2 separate regions of the Homo sapiens genome follow, and region 1 is linked to region 2. The links are contacts of gene promoters, found by promoter capture Hi-C in human tissues and cell types (Jung and others, 2019). All regions are on one chromosome and are shown on one strand. Each heading gives the region's core, a stretch centred on a gene start or on the middle of the fragment in contact. The rest is flanking DNA. Distances are from core to core; before and after follow the strand shown. Region 1 has its middle 3.5 kb from the start of PABPC4. Region 2 holds the start of NT5C1A (5'-nucleotidase, cytosolic IA).

Region 1 (3,186 bases), core at 344-2,843, 92 kb after region 2:
TTTTTTTTTCAGACAGAGTCTCTCTCAGTCGCCCAGGCTGGAGTGCAGTGGCACAACCTTGGCTCACTGCAACCTCTGCCTCCCGGATTCACATGATTCTCCTCCCTCAGCCTCCCAAGTAGCTGGGATTATAGGCACCTGCCACCACATCCGGCTAATTTTCTATTTTTAGTAGAGACGGGGTTTTACCATGTTGGTCAGGCTGGTCTCAAACTCCTGACCTCAGGTGATCTGCTCTCCTTGGCCTCCCAAAGTGCTGGAATTACAGGCAATTACAGGCGGCAGCCACCACGCCTGGCACTTAGGGCCTTTATAGATGCTGTTCTCCCTGACTTCATTTAGGGACTCCCCTCCTTTCTTTTTATTTTACTTTTTTTTTTTTTTTTTGAGACAGAGTTTCACTCCTGTTGCCCAGGCTGGAGTGCAATGGCGCAATCTCGGCTCACCGCAACCTCCACCTCCCCGGTTCAAGTGATTCTCCAGCCTCAGCCTCTGGAGTAGCTAGGATTACAGGCATGCACCACCACGCCTGGCTAATTTTGTTTTTTTAGTAGAGATGGGGTTTCTCCATGTCCGTCAGTCTGGTATCGAACTCCTGACCTCAGGTGATCTGCCTGCCTCAGCCTCCCAAAGTGCTGGGATTACAGGCGTGAGCCACCGCGCCCGGCCTCCGCCTCCTTTCTTAGTACAAATGTAGCTTGATAGTAATAGCTATTAACATTCATCCAAGGCTGGGCACATGGTGGCTTACACCTGTAATCCCAACACTTTGGGAGACTGAGGTGGGGGCGGATTGCCTGAGCTCAGGAGTTCGCAACCAGGCTGGGCAACATTGTGAAAACCTGTCTCTACTAAAATACAAAAAATTAGCCCAGTGTGGCGATGTATGCCTGTAGTCCCAGCTACTAGGGAGGCTGAGGCAGGAGAATCGCTTGAACCTGAGAGGCAGAGGTTGCAGTGAGCTGAGATCGCACCACTGCATTCCAGCCTGGGCGACAAAGTGAGACATCTCAAAAAAAAAATTAATCCAAACAATTTATGTGTATTTATATGTATTCATTTATTCTCACAATAACCCTTTTAATTGTTAATAAGGTTTATTAGTATAGTTCAGATGAGAAATTTGAGGGTCAGAGATGTGAACTAGCTTGCCCAAAGTAATATAGGTAATAAGCTCCCCCAATAGACAATAAGCTTCAGGAGGTCAGAGCTTGTGTGGGTTTTGCTCATCTGTGCCTAGTATTCATTTGTTTATTTAACAAATATTTAGGCCAGGTGCAGTGGTTTATGCCTGTAATCCCAACACTTTAAGAAGCCAAAGTGGATCGCTTGAGGTCAGGAGTTTGAGGCTGCAGTGAGCTATGATCAGGCCACTGCACTCCAGCCTGGGCAACACAGTGAGACTTTGTTGCTTAAAAAAAAATACATGCAGTGGCTCATGCCTGTAATCCCAGCACTTTGGGAGGCCAAGGTGGGCGGATCACGAGGTCAGGAGATCAAGACCATCCTGGCTAGCACAGTGAAACCCCATCTTTACTAAAAAATACAAAAAATTAGCCGGGCGTGGTAGTGGGCACCTGTGGTCCCAGCTACTCGGGAGGCTGAGGCAGGAGAATGGCGTGAACCCGGGAGGCAGAGCTTGCAGTGAGCCAAGATCGCGCCACTGCACTCCAGCCTGGGCAACAGAGCGAGACCCAGTCTCAAAAAAAACAAAAAAACAAAAAAAAAAATACACAGGCTGGGTGTGTGGCTCACGCCTGTAATCCCAGCACTTGGGGAAGCCGAGACGAATACATCACCTGAGGTCAGCAGTCGGAGACCAGCCTGGGCAACATGGTGAAATCCCATCTCTACTGAAAATACAAAAAGTAGCTGGGCATAGTGGTGGGTGCCTGTAATTCCAGCTACTTGGGAGGCTGAGGCAGGAGAATCACTTGAATCCGGGAGGTGGCGGTTGCAGTGAGCCGACATCACGCCACTGCACTCCAGCCTGGGTGACAGAGCAAGTCTCTGTCTCAAAAAAAAAAAAAAAAAAAAAAAGGCTGGGCGTGGTGGCTCACCCCTGTAATCCCAGCACTTTGGGAGGCCGAGGCGGGCAGATTACAAGGTCAAGAGATTGAGACCATCCTGGCCAACATGGTGAAACCCCATCTCTACTAAAAATACAAAAATTAGCCAGGTGTGGTGGCACGCACCTGTAGTCCCAGCTACTCGGGAGGCTGAGGCAGGAGAATTGCTTGAATCCGGGAGGCGGAAGTTGCAGTGAGCCTAGATCGCAGTACTGCACTCCAGCCTGCCAATAGAGCGAGAGTTGGTTTCAAAAAAAAAAATAGCCAGGTGTGGTGGCGCATGCCTGCAATCCCAGCTACTTGGGAGGCTGAGGCATGAGAATTGCTTGAACCTGGGAGGCAGAGGTTGCAGTGAGCCGAGACTGCACCACTGCACTCCAGCCTCGGTGACAGAGGAAGATTTCATACCCCCCCCACAAAAAAAACAAGAAAACACACACACACACACACACACACACACACACACACACAAACATATATTGAATATTTATTTATCTATTTATTTTTTAGTAACAGAGTCTCACTCTGTTGCTCAGCCTGGAGTGCAGCGACATGATCATAGCTCACTACAGCCTTCAACTCCTGGCCTCAAGCGATCCTCCTACCTCAGACTCCCAAGTAGCTGAGACCACAGGCATGTGTCCCCACACCCAGCCAATTAAAAGAAAATTTTTTTTTGTAGAGATAGGGTCTCACTCTGTTGCCCAGGCTGGTTTCAAATGTCTGGGCTCAAGCGATCCTCCTGCCTCAGCCTCCCAAAGCACTGAGAGTATAGGTGTGAGCCACCTGCCTGGCCAGTTACTGAACATTTAGTACGTGCTATGTTAAGCACTATTCTAGATTCCTGTTCTCATGAAGCTTATATACCAATGTGGAAAAGATAGATACTAAACAGGTAAACAGATATAGAACAACATAATTTTGGGTAGGAATAACAGGCTTGAAGACAAGAAGACAAGTTGGTGTGATAGTGATTAACAATGTTGACGGCTACTTTAGACCACAGGAGGTCTAGGAAGACTTTCCTGAGGAGGGAATCTATAGAAGGAGCACTCCCATAAATGTTCCTTTTTTTTTGAGACGGAGTCTCGCTCTGTCACCCAGGCTGGAGTGCAGT
Region 2 (3,175 bases), core at 512-3,011:
TTACTTCATCATTCTTCTCCATGAGGCACCTGAGAATAATTGACCTCATTCCTAGAGTTTCAATTATTTATTGCAGTGTAACAAGCTACCCCAAAACTTGGTGCCTGAAACAACAATTTATTATTTTTGATGATTCTGTGAGTTGGCTGGGCTCAGCTGGAAGGTTTTACTGCTTCAGGTTGTGTTGGCTGGCGTCACCCACATAGCTGCACTCCACTGGGAGCTGAGCTGGGGCTGGGACAGCCAGGATGGCCTCATTCACATGTCTGTCAATTGTGCCTATAGTCACCTGGGCTGTCGCTAGCTTCTTATCCTCCAGGTCCTATCTGTCTCACTACGTGGCCTTTCCAGCAGGATAGTCCAGACTTATTTACATAGTAGCTGGCTCCCAAGAGGGCAAAAATGGAATCTGCAAGGCCTCTTAAGACGTAAGCTTGGAAACCACAGAGCACCACTTCTACTCCATTCAATTGGTCAAAGCAAGTCACAGGGCCAGCTCAGACTGGACTCCACCTCTGAATGGGAGGAATGTCAAAGTCACATTTCCAAAGGACAGGCAGGATGGAAGAGGTTTTTGGGCCATCTCTGGAAACAATCTTCTAGAAGTAAGTCTAAACACACTTCCCCCAATCCTAACATTTTATTATGATTTTTCCCTTCCTCCCACACAAGGGTTGGTTTATTCCTCCCAGGACCTGGTGGAGGCTGAGGGGATCACTCCATTCTGTAGCCCCCTCACCTCCCCAGTCAGAGGCCCTCCTAGCTAAGCCAGTGTTTTCTCCTGCTTCTCCCACCCACCCATGCACACCTCTGAGAGAGGCTGTCTGCTTCCTGGCCTGTACCTTGGGATGGGTGACATTTGTGTCTGCACCCTGAGACTAGTACAGAGCTCTGCATCAAGAGGGACAACACCCTGGAATTCCAGGATGGTAGTTCCGAGGCCCCTCTTCTGCCCTCCCTCTATCCAGCCCCTTCATGGCCTATAACAAATCACCCCAAGCTGGGCAGGTGGGGGCCTAGGAATGCGCGCCCTCTGCTGACCACCAAAGGGCCAGCAAGAATTCGGGTTCAGAGTCCCTGGGAGTCTCTCTGGCCTGGGTCCCCACCCCAGGCCAAGGTCTCGACCTGAGACCACCCGAGCCTGGTCTCAACATGGACTTCAAGGGCCCCTCCTAGGTGGTGTGGAGGAGCTGCCGGGTTGGGCCCTTCACTGAGCTCCCGCTGGGAGCAGGCTTCTGCTAGTGAGAGGAGCCATCCATGCATCACCTCCTGCCCGTCTGCCGGATGGACTGGCCTCGGAGGGAAGGGGACATCGTCAGGATCCCAGGGTCCTAGCTCCTAAAGGAAAGATGGGCAGCTAGCTTTTGGGAGGGGAGCGGCTAGCTTTTCATTTTGTCCTTTGGGGATCACTATCCTGGGGGAAAAAAAAAGTTGTCAGGCCTCTCCTGTCTCCGCGCCCTGCAGCGCCTGCGAAGAACATCATTTTCGCAATCCCCAATCCGCTGCAGCCCACAAACCCAGAGAGCCAGAGAGCCCCCCTCACCACCCAACCGGCTGCTGGCGTGGGTCGGTCGGGGAAGGAGAGCCCAGCTATCCCTCATACCGTACAGCAGTAGCAGCAGCAGCGGCAGCGACACACGGGCGACCGAGAGGGCCAGTGTGACCTCCCCCCGCCCGGCGGGCGGGGAGCCCAGCTCACACGCACAGCCTCCTCGCCGCTGCCCGCCCCCTTCCCTCGCCGGGACTCGCCTCCCTCCTGCAGCCCAGCCCCAGCCACCTCCGCGTCTACGCCGCCGCCTGCTCTGGCCGGGCCGGGTCAGAGCCGGAGCATGGAACCTGGGCAGCCCCGGGAGCCCCAGGAGCCCCGCGAGCCCGGGCCAGGAGCGGAGACCGCTGCGGCCCCGGTCTGGGAGGAAGCCAAGATTTTCTACGACAACCTCGCGCCCAAGAAGAAACCCAAATCGGTAAAAGCAATGCACGGGTATGCGGGGGACGGGGGAAGGGTTACCCCGGAGGAGGGGTCATAAGTCTCTTGGGAAGGGACCCGTGGCGCCCCTCTGGGAGGGGACGCAGCTCCTCAGCCCCAGAATGCGCCCTGCAGCTGGCGCGGGCTCGGGTTTATTTTGGGAGCTCTGCTCTGGTGTATTTTTTTACCGGGACTCGGGTTCCACGCCAGGCTCCCCCTCCCCCATGCTGTCATCAGGGCCCAGCTAGAGGCCCGCAGCCCCAGCCCCTCCCCACTCGGGCCGCCGGGGAGCGCGGATTGCACTTGTTGGCGAAGCTGGTCCGCAGCGCTTCCAGAAGCGCCCCAGGCGCGGGTAACCAGACTTTGGGAACCCGGTTCCTGGCTGTGCGCTCCGGTCTCCGCCATCTGGGCATCGGGCTCCGGACCTGAGACTCTGCGTTTGGGGTCTGGCTCTGGGTCCTGGGCCCTGGGCTGGGGGCAGTGCGCTCCCCGCGTCCTAAGGAAAGGGAGCTGCTCTCTCCAGGCACTGGGATCCACACTCTGCGCTGGGGGGCGATCGGCGCCCCTGGCCGCAGGCTCCCAGCGCTGGACTCTGCCCCCCAGCTCGGGTTCTGCTCCCCTTGCAGTGGGCATTAACATCCCCACGACCCTGTGGTGGTGTCAACCGTCTGGGACCTCACAGAGGAGCTCTCTCCTCTCTGCCATCAAACAAGTTGATGATGCCCTGGTCTGCCCCTGGACCTTGCTGTCTCCAACTTCCCAGATCTCAGAGCTTGAGGAGAAAACCGAGAATAGAGGTTGGCCCACAGCGGTCCTCCAAAGAGCTCCAGCTTGATCTTAAAGCAATTTGCTGCTTCCCTCCAAGAACCCTTCCCCAACAGGTCCACCCTATCAGCAATCATTCAATTAGCACCTCCAAGCTCTGCTCAAGAGTGGGGATTGAAGAATTAAATAACCTGAGTCCCTGCCTCAGGAGCTCACTGCACAATGATGGAGGCTCCAGAGATGAGAGCCTAGGGGAGTTGGGGGGGGAGTAGAGTAGTGACATCACACTGGGGAAAGCTTTGTAGAAGTGGCACGTATCCTGATCTTAAAGCCTGAGTAGGTGGAGTTTCCCAGGGAGAGGGAAACAGGACAGGCAAAAGTCATGCAGATGTCTCTGAAGCTCAGGACTGTGTTCCTGAATAAGTACTGAATGAAGAATGCAGG

The links. Contacts are between HindIII fragments. The study calls those that stand out against the background at their distance.
Region 1: a contact is called between a fragment that was not itself captured here and the fragment with the promoter of NT5C1A in region 2, in 4 of the 25 tissues and cell types used here (IMR-90 fibroblasts, lymphoblastoid cells, mesenchymal stem cells and 1 more).

Annotation. Positions count from the first base shown.
Region 1 is chr1:39,578,712-39,581,897 of GRCh38, reverse strand. No RefSeq gene overlaps it. Among named protein-coding and RNA genes, the nearest start is that of PABPC4, 3.5 kb to the right of the region's middle. The HindIII fragment of the contact is 4,000 bases long and covers 1-3,186 here.
Region 2 is chr1:39,670,693-39,673,867 of GRCh38, reverse strand. It overlaps NT5C1A (5'-nucleotidase, cytosolic IA), which reads left to right and starts at 1,761. Exons shown (of 6, transcript NM_032526.3): 1 at 1,761-1,964. The coding sequence starts at 1,830. RefSeq lists a silencer at 1,569-1,978. The HindIII fragment of the contact is 3,595 bases long and covers 1-3,175 here.